Regions from separate parts of the Homo sapiens genome. Here regions 1 and 2 are each linked to region 3. Evidence: promoter capture Hi-C in human tissues and cell types (Jung and others, 2019). All regions are on one chromosome and are shown on one strand. Each heading gives the region's core, a stretch centred on a gene start or on the middle of the fragment in contact. The rest is flanking DNA. Distances are from core to core; before and after follow the strand shown. Region 1 overlaps PEX19 (peroxisomal biogenesis factor 19). Region 2 overlaps DCAF8 (DDB1 and CUL4 associated factor 8). Region 3 holds the start of ATP1A2 (ATPase Na+/K+ transporting subunit alpha 2).

Evidence for each region. The method cuts DNA at HindIII sites, captures the fragments that hold promoters and counts their contacts. A contact is called where the count stands out against the background at its distance.
Region 1: a contact is called between a fragment that was not itself captured here and the fragment with the promoter of ATP1A2 in region 3, in 2 of the 25 tissues and cell types used here (mesendoderm cells and neural progenitor cells).
Region 2: a fragment that was not itself captured here is called in contact with the fragment with the promoter of ATP1A2 in region 3 in 4 of the 25 tissues and cell types used here (H1 embryonic stem cells, IMR-90 fibroblasts, aorta and 1 more).

Annotation. Positions count from the first base shown.
Region 1 is chr1:160,274,913-160,278,039 of GRCh38, reverse strand. PEX19 (peroxisomal biogenesis factor 19) reads left to right here. Exons shown (of 8, transcript NM_002857.4): 8 at 1-1,233. Among named protein-coding and RNA genes, the nearest start is that of PEX19, 8.7 kb to the left of the region's middle. The HindIII fragment of the contact is 8,705 bases long and covers 1-3,127 here.
Region 2 is chr1:160,256,215-160,259,484 of GRCh38, reverse strand. The region is part of intron 2 of DCAF8 (DDB1 and CUL4 associated factor 8); the gene reads left to right. Among named protein-coding and RNA genes, the nearest start is that of DCAF8-DT, 3.9 kb to the left of the region's middle. The HindIII fragment of the contact is 6,807 bases long and covers 1-3,270 here.
Region 3 is chr1:160,114,078-160,117,110 of GRCh38, reverse strand. ATP1A2 (ATPase Na+/K+ transporting subunit alpha 2) reads right to left here and starts at 1,352. Exons shown (of 23, transcript NM_000702.4): 1 at 1,238-1,352. The coding sequence starts at 1,249. RefSeq lists enhancers at 1,078-1,861, 2,614-3,033. The HindIII fragment of the contact is 19,722 bases long and covers 1-3,033 here.

The DNA.
Region 1 (3,127 bases), core at 429-2,928, 160 kb before region 3:
GAGCTTCTGACATGTCACTTGCCCCGAGGTTAAAACTTTTCACCCCTTGAAGACCTTACATGTTTTATGGTATTGGTGAGGAAGGAAATGTTCTCAAGGTCTCAGGCTATTTGGGAAATTCCAACTCCTATACCTTACCAGAGCATGGAAGAGCCCAGATCTGAATGTAAAACGTCTCTGTTCTGCCAGAGATGGAAAAAATACAGGTATACTTGTGATATAGTCATGGGGCTTCAGTGTCACTATTTTCTCCTTAAAGCTCCAGCCAAAAACTGGACAAGGATAGAGAGGAGGAGGGAAGAACAAAAGAGCCCTTCTCTATGAACCTTGTGCCTTCTGTCCTACCAGTTTTCTTTTACAGATTCTCACTTCTGCTAGCCTAGCCAGGGCTTACTCCAGGAATCTAAATAGATGCCCTAGTCCACTTTATCTTTGTTCCCAAGGCACTCATTTTTATTTTGATTTTGATTGAATGTGAGCAGGTTGACCTCAGGTCACACTTTGTTCCAAAAACTTTTGGAATTATTCCAGGACTTGTGGTGGAGTTATGGTACTCTAGGGCAGTCTTTCTCAAACTATGTATGGTAAAGGACCAGGTTTTTTGTTTTCCAGTCCTTCACTTATCAATATGCATTCCTATTGCCCATGACAGGTATGGAGTTCACACTGTGTGCTGCCGACCCGGCAAGTTTGACAGCACCCAAACTGGCCAGACTGTTCTGTAGGTTAAGTCCATTGATCATGTACTTGGATATCACAGCAACATTGAAATGCTAAAAAGTTTTTAAACACTCTCAATTTCTAATTCACCATGTCACAGACTGGTGAAAAAAAAAAAAAGGTGTTCACTGACCAGCACAAGTCTGCAGATCATCTTTGAGTAGCACTGTTTTGGGGCCCTCGGTCTCTCTGAAGACCCTAGCAGAACTGATACCTACCTGTATCTCTTGTTCTCTCCTATTTGAGTTTCACTTCCAGAGAACTTGTTCTTCAGCAAGAATGTGTCACTAGTAAGGACATCTCTAGCATTTCTCTAGCCTTCCTTTTCTGCTGCTCAAAAATAATCGTTACAAAGCTTAGGTTTAAGCTGTATATGAAATATTTATGCGACTCTCAAACTTTAAAGGAGTTGCTCCTTTGTTCCAAAATTAAATGTGTTAGATAAATTTGTGATTGTATGGGTGGCTTCATGAATTAAGAATTGAATTAATACAGACTTTTTGATAATTGGGACATTTTCCTGTGACTCTGGAAGGTCTTGTCAAAGCCCCATGAGGCAGTTATAATATGATGTTAAGATGGCTTTGGGGAGCTAGGAGAAAACATTGGCCCATATTGAATGACGTGGAGACGGCAGACCATACAAAAAAGGACCAAAAGACTTAGAGGAAATGGGTATGCAAGAATGAATGTTATATAACACTGGTAAACCCACCAGCTGACTACCCCAGAAAGACCTGGGAATTATTTTTTAATAAAGACAATGGGAAAGGCACTGATGAAGGGTTACCAGCATCTTTGAGAAATTTAGAAGTGGCTGTCTCTCTAGATCGAAGCTGATACAAGATGTAAAAGAAACTGTTTTCCTAGTAGCAGTGGGGGAATGATAGGATCCTGACATAGCAGAGGCCAGGTGGCAACACTTAACTCTCAGAAGCAAGGTGAGTAAATTTCCTTAAGGGTAGCAAGGTCAAAGTGGAGATGGCTAACGGAATGTGAGTGGTCCTAGGAGCAGGATAGATGGGCAACCAAGAAGAGTATTGTCTTATATATAAGGGAGATCAAGAATGGTTGAACAGAAGGCTGAAGTCAGAAACTTCAAAGAAAAGTCCCCATTTCTTGTCCAGTTTTTAAGCCTGAGATAGTTCTTAGACTCATAAACTATCAATGGAAAGAGACATTTATCAGTTAATCATTGAGTGGAAAAGCACTGTTCATCCTCTGTTCTCACACCACAATGAGTGACACAGAACTCTTCTGTAATCACGTGTGGAATTCCCTCCCCTCAACAAGCAAGCAATTCTGCAGTGGATAACAGCTGGATATCCTCTAATTTACTTTAATTCTGACACTGTCTACCTGGAGACAGTGTCAGATCCCACAGGTTGACCAATCAATCACTGAGACTCTCCCCCCCAACTTCTGATGTCAATTGCAATTCCTGGGTTATTTTGCCTGTGCTATAAATCAGGGTGTCTACAGCCAGCTCCTTGGGTTTGGTTAATTTGTTAGAGTGGCCCACAAAACTTGGGGAAACACTTACTTACATATTTCAGTTTATTTAAAGGATATTACAATGAATATAGATGAAAACATGGCTGGACCCAGTGGCTCACGCTTGTAATCCCAACACTTTGGGAGGCCGAGGTGGGTGGATCACCTAAGGTCAGGAGTTCGAGACCAGCCTGGCGAACATAGTGAAACCCCGTCTCTATTAAAAAAATACAAAATTTAGCTGGGTGTGGTGGTGCATGCCTGTAGTCCCAGCTACTTGGGAAGCTGAGGAAGGAGAATTGCTTGAACTGGGGAGGCGGAGGTTGCAGTGAGCTGAGACTGTGCCACTGTACTCCAGCCTGGGCAACAGACAGAGCAAGACTCCATCTCTCAAAAAAAAAAAGATGAAAAGATGTATAAGGCAAGGTTGCAGAGCTTCCATTCCTTCTCTGGGCATGCCACCATTTAGGACAGCGGTCCCCAACATTCTTGGCACCAGGGACCAGTTTCATAGAAGACAAGTTTTCCACAGAGGGGGGTGGGGGGATGGTTTTGGGATGAAACTGTTCTACCTCGGATCATCAGGCATTAGCTAGATTCTCATAAGGGGCACACAACCTAGATCCCTCGCATGTGCAGTTCACAATAGGGTTTGCACTCCTCTGAGAATCTAGTGCCACTGCTGATCTGACAGGAGGTGGAGCTTAGGCGGTATTGCTGGCCCACCTGCCACTCACCTCCTGCTGTGAGGCCCAGTTCCTAACAAGCCATGGACTGGTACTGGTTCGTGGCCCAGGTGTTGGGGACCCCTCATTCTATAAACCCTCATGTGTTTGACATCTTGGAAGCTGTCTAGATCTTGTCTTTTTGGGTTTTTATGGAGGCTTTATATATAGGCATGATTAGCTGAACC
Region 2 (3,270 bases), core at 68-2,567, 140 kb before region 3:
CTCAGCCCACTGCAACCTCCGACTCCCTGGTTCAAGCGATTCTCCTGCCTCAACCTCCCGAGTAGCTGGGATTACAGGCATGCGCCACCATGCCCAGCTAATTTTTGTATTTTTAGTAGAGGAGGGGTTTCACCATGTTGGCCAGGGTGGTCTCAATCTCCTGACCTTGTGATCTGCCCGCCTCAGCCTCCCAAAGTGCTAGGATTACAGGTGTGAACCACCATGCCCGGCCAAAGAGTTCTTTTTTCAGCTCCACAGCTGGACCGTCTTAATAATATGACAGCACAGATGAAGAGTTTTAAACCTTTTGTTGGCTTTTCTTTCGTATCTTTTTGGCAAGGGCACATGAAAATTAAGTACTGATAATATCACAATGAAAGCAGCTGTGTCATTCAGACCAGTGACCATTTTAGGTTTGATGAACTTTTCATTACCATCATCCAGGGTCTAAATTCTCCATTGTAAGGTAAGGATTCTCCAGGGTGGTGGTGAGGTGGGTTGAGATTGCATTTGTATCATTTGTGTTTTTATGAACTCTGAAGATCCATGTCGGGTGAAGGAAAGGATGGGAGGAGAAAAGGAAATACTTTGAAAGAGGGATAACTTGGACTGTTTATTTCCTTATGTGCTGGGTAAGAATGTCCAGGTGACATCTATATGTAGTAAATCAGTATTTCTAGTCTGTGGACCACACTGTAAACTTTTTATCTTTCTAAAGTTTTTTTTATTTTTGTAGAGATAGGGTCTCACTTTGTTGCCTAGGCTGGTCTCAAACTCCTGGGCTCAAGTGATCTTCCCACCTCAGCTGAGTAGCTGGGACCGCAGGGGCATATCACCATACCTAGCTAATTTTTGGTTGTTTTTTTTTTGTTTGTTTGTTTTTTTAAAGAGATGAGGTCTTACTTGCCCGGCTCAAGTGATGCTCCCATCTTGGCCTCCCAAAGTGCTGGGATTACAGGCATAGCCGCAGCACCCAGCTTGAAGATATTTTTATATTTCCAGGGTTTTAGGTGTTTACTTAAGAATTGTGACATCTTATTAGGTAGTATTTCCTAGGATGATTAGAGTGGGAGGCTAAGAATGCTTGTGACCTTTTAGTTCCCACCACCAACCTCTTAAAGTGCAGTCTATTTATTTATTTTTGAAATAGGATCTCACTCTGTCACCTAGAGTGCAGTGGCACTATCATGGCTCACTGCAACCTCGACCTCTTGGGCTTAGGTGATTCTCCCATCTCAGCCTCTCGAGTAGCTGGGACTACAGGTGCACGCCACCGTACCTGGCTAATTTTTGTATTTTTTGTAAAGATGAGGTTTCACCATATTGCCCAGGCTGGTTTCAAACCCCTGGGCTCAAGCAATCCTCCTGCCTCAGCCTCCCAGAGTGCTGGGATTACAGGCGTGAGCCACTGCACCCTGCTAAATGCAGTCAATTAAATGTATAAGAATCTGCCAGGCTGAGTGCGGCTGGCTCATGGCTGTAATCCCAGCACTTTTGGGAGGCCAAGGTGGGAGGATCACTTGATCCTAGTTGTTCAAGTCCAGCCTAGGCAATATTGAGACCTTGTCTCTACAAAAAGTTTAAAAAAAAAGCCAAGCATGGGGCAAGTACTTGCAGTCCCATCTCCTTGGGAGGCTGAGGTGGGAGGATTGTTTGAGTCCAGGAGGTAGAGCTGAGATTGCGCAGTGATCACTGCAGTGCGCTGAGATTGCGCCTCTGCAGTTTAGTATGGGCAACAGAGCGAGACCTAGTCTCAAAAAAAAGAATCAGTTCCAGTGCCATGGTCCTTAGTGTGGAGTAGGACCAACCTAAGACAGAAGCTTGTCTACAGAGAGCTGAAAGAAAGCAGCCTCTTTGTTGCCAGTTTAAAACAATACTGGCATTTTAAAAGCAAACAGATTCTAGTAGGAGACATTGTATAGAAGCGCACCCTGTTGTGAAAGACTGGGATCTTGAGTTTCGTGCTCTAAGTCTTGTATTCTATCAGGGGAGTAATAGGCTTTTAAAATCATAAAGTGACTATTAAAATGCTTTCAGTAGATAGATTCATTACTCCATTATTTCTACTGTATAAAAGTTTATTCTAAACATGTCTAGGAAATATCCAGATTATAAAAGAGAAATAACGGTATCCAAACCAGACTTTTTATTGCATAACATTGGTGTTAGAGTTAGTTTTTAAGTCTCTGAGATTGAATTAGCTTTTTTTTTTTTTAAAGCAGATTATCAGTGAGCTAAGATAATCTGCTGTTTACCCTCACCTATTTGGAACACAGGCAACTGAATTAATTGAATCAGCAATAGGCATGGGGTAGTGACTTTGTATATTTTCATTTTAGAGCCAAAAGCCAGTGAGTTTTAGATTAGCTTTATAGTAATATTAAAAACTTCATCTTTTATTTTTACAAATGTAGCCAAGAAACATCATTGCTGTTAAAATCAGTCAGAAAAGGAGGCTACTTGCTCTTTATTGATTTAGTCATTCTGCTCTTGGAGTGAGTAGAAAGTCTTTGAAAGCTTTTCAAAAATTAGCGAGTGATGAATTTTATGAATTAGTCACTTCTTTGCAGCAGTTTTTTTTTATCTCTACCTCTGTAGGACATAGTTCCTGGGCCAGAAGCCAGATTTCTCAAGTACCATCTAACCCCAGGAATGTGTTATGATACAGATAAATTAATGAACGGAGGCTGCCTTGAGGTTGCCAATAGGGCATTGGGGAGTAATTAATATGACAAAGATGTCATCTTATTAATGAAATGTATTAATAGTATGTCTAGTGGATTGGGTCAATGCAAACATTTTAGATTAGATATTTGCTGTTTATCCTCTGAAGTTACTGTTTAAGGAAGTCTGGCCAAGTTCTAAAGTGAAGCATACATATTTGCCTCACGTGCCATTTTTTTTTTTCTTCCTGGCTTTTTCTTAGCCATCTGGAAAGCTACTATAGGGTTTACCTCTAATGGTAGTCAAGTTACTGTATTCCTCTGGTGTACTTTAATGATTGCCACATTACCAGGTATGTTTTGTTAACCTTACTTAGAATCCAACATTAGACCCTTTCTTCTAACCTAACCTGTAGGAAGGCACTTCTTGAGGTTTTAAGCCTCTCTTTAATGTTTTATTGTAAGTTGTACCTTGGGAGCATCATTTTTTCATCTTAAATCCTCTCCAGTTTAAGAAAAATTTGAAATATAAATGGCAAAAACTGTTAATGGCAACAGACTTCTGATGTAAATGTAAATTGAGATGGAAACAAAATGAAAAGTAGAT
Region 3 (3,033 bases), core at 103-2,602:
CACAGTGACATTTATGCTTGTGCAGGCTTGAAGGCTTGTACATTTACAAATTTGCCTGCTGAGACACAAACACAGGTACTCATCCATGAGTAACTGCAGGACTCCCCGCCTATGGAGAACACGTGGTCAAGGACACACACTCACACACACACAGACACAGACACACAGATACATGCATGCACTCCAATTCTATTTATGGCTCCAACCCTAGCTCAGGAACCCTGGTGTCCAGGCTCAGGATTTCCCAGCTGCTCAACTAGGTGCAATAACATGTCCTTGCCTGACTCCTCCTGGGCCCAGAAACACCCACGGCTCCCCCTAGGCACAGTCTTCCTCATACCCTCCTGTTCCGCAGCATGCCCTTTCCCTCTGTGTCCTCTTTTGCCAGTATTCCACAAAAGGAAAGCAGCCAGGCACAGCATGTAAAAGGATTGGGCCACTCTTCTCCATATGGGAATTTCATTTCCAAGAATTCAAAGCCCTCTCCCTGCCCGCCCCATTGTTGTTAATCTTCCTCTTGGTGTAGCCATTGCTGCAGAATGCCATGGACGGGTGGACTGGGGGGGGGGTCACCTGTCACCAGCCTCTGGGAAAGTCCTCAAAGCCCATGGCTTGGAACCCACGGACAATGCTGCTCGGGACATCCGGAGGGGTGCTGGGGTGGGGGCTGGGTCATCATTCTTCCTCCCCACACCCCGCCCAGCTGTCCTTGGCACTCAGGGCCCCTGGAGCTGGTGTCCGGAACTACTTGGTGACTCTGGGAGCCGGATGCTCTACTGCCCCTCTCTAACCTCAAAATGGACCCCCAGCCTCTCAGGCTAGGACTCCCAGAGGAATGGATATTTTCAGGAGGTGGCAAAGACAGGAGGACTCACAGTGCCAAACATCCTTTCAGCTGGGAGGCCGGGAGATGCAGTGAGAGGAGGGACTGCTGCAGGGAAGGACTAGAGATGTGGGAGTGGGGTGGAGGGAGAGATGGAGGGGGCATGTGTGGTGGGCTGTGGGTCTAACTGTGGGCAGGGGGCTGGGGCGTGCAGAGGAGAGGAGAGCACTAGGGTATGTGACCGCCGTGGGATCTGTACACACATTGGTAGTTTGGAGACTGTTAGTTTCAAGTTCCAAGTATCCCACTCAGCTCCTCTCTCCCGCTCCTTCCACATCCCATTCCCACTTCATCCTTCCTCAGCAGCCTCCCTCACCCTCTAGACTGCGACCCCTGCTCTTTAGGGATACTCACCCCACGGCCCATCTTGGGGCAGAGTGGCTGAGGGACCTTAGCGGGAGAGGTCACCAGGAGGATCCCAAGCCCACACCAGCCCGTCTGGGACAGTCGGAGACCCTGGCAGACAGAGAAAGCCAAAGCAACAGGGTAGCTTTAAATAGGTCCTTCTCCCCCTCTCCCCCGCCTTCCCCTCCTCCGAAAGAAACGTTTGTTGAAACAGGATCCCTGAGGACTCCTCCCCTCCCGCCCCTTTAGCCACTGGCCCTAGACAGCCCGTTTGTCCCACGGCATGCCCCCCCTTGGCTCCTCTCAACCCCCTCTGGCCTGTGGCACTCACAACTGAGAGAGGCTGCAAGGGAAGGGGGCCTGGGTCCCAGGTTGGGGGGATATGCCCCCTTGGATCTGGCTGAAGGGGAGCAGTTGACTCAGAATCCCAGGATGACAGAGACCATGTGGCCTAACTCTTCTTTTCCAAGTGGGTAAACTGAGGCTCAGAGAGATTAAACAATTTGAATTGATAAGACAGAGCCAGAACTCAGGTCTCCCGAGTCTACATCCAATCTCCCAGAGAAAGAAAGAAACATAGACCACTCTGTTCCTTCTATTATAGAGGTTGCAGGGACACTGAAGCCCAGAAATAGAATTTGAACCGAAGGCTGACCTCTGCACTTGAGGCACCTGGAAGGGGGGCCCAGGAGGAGTCAAAGGTGGCTCGGGAGGCAGCGGGAAGTTTGGAGATGGAGGCAAGAGGGTGTCCCCAAACCCTGCCAGATGTAACCTCTCCAAAGTTTTGAAGGAGAATCAAGACTCTGGTAGGGAGGGGCAGGCCAGGGCTAGAGGGGAACGGGTGGGACTCCTAGCAGGCACCTGATGACATCTCTGGGTTTTGTTTACCCCTCGTTTACCGTTTCATTGCTGTTGAAGAGCTCTAGACTGAATCTATGCCTGAGTAGAGTAGTGATAGGGAGAAGTCAAAAGAGAGGAAAATACAGAACCTCTAAGATGTGTGTGAAGGTCAATATCATAGCAAATATCAGACATGTGAACGGGAAAGGAGAGCGACTGTTTCCTTCTTCCAGTGGGGAAGGGGAAGCAAAGCTGCAGCATGCAGGACTGAGGCTGGAGAACAGGCCTCTCTGCAGTGAAGTGGGGGAGATTGGAAATGTCTGAGGAGTGAGGATGCCCATCAGAGTCAGGAGCAATCCCAGAAATGCCTAAGGCTTTGCCTGGGGCTGGAAAGGGTATCTTTAACCTTATACCAGCTAGAAACTGGGGACAACGAGATGACCCAGGACAGGACCAGCTGGTCTAGGGGTGTTGTTGCTGCTCATTTGATGAGTAATCCAAAGGATGAGGGGCACAGAGAGGAAGGGGAACCCAGAAGGGGCAGAGAGAAAAGAAAAAATTCTGCTCCCGCCTTCTACTGGGAACAGTCAGAGGACAGGATTCCCCTGGAGTACCCCTGTTTCTCTGGGCACAGAGATGGAGTGAGGGGAAGCCAGCGGAGTGGGGCAGGTCTAAGTGTCCTGAGTGCAAAGAAAGCAGAGAGGAAGGGAGGGAGGGAAGGGGGGCTTTGGCCAGAGGCCTAAGGTGCCTGCTGGCTGGGCTGGGTCCATCTCTGGCCCCAGAGGGAACTCCCTGCAGAGGGATTATCAGCCTCTCCTCTAGCAAATCCACTCTCAGGGCACAAGGCTAACATCTGAATTCCCTAAATAACTGGCCCCCTCCGGGCCTGCAGTTGAGATTTTCCATTACAGGGACCTGGTAGGTCACATCTCACTTCCACGCTCCTTCCCTCTCTGGGTTACAGT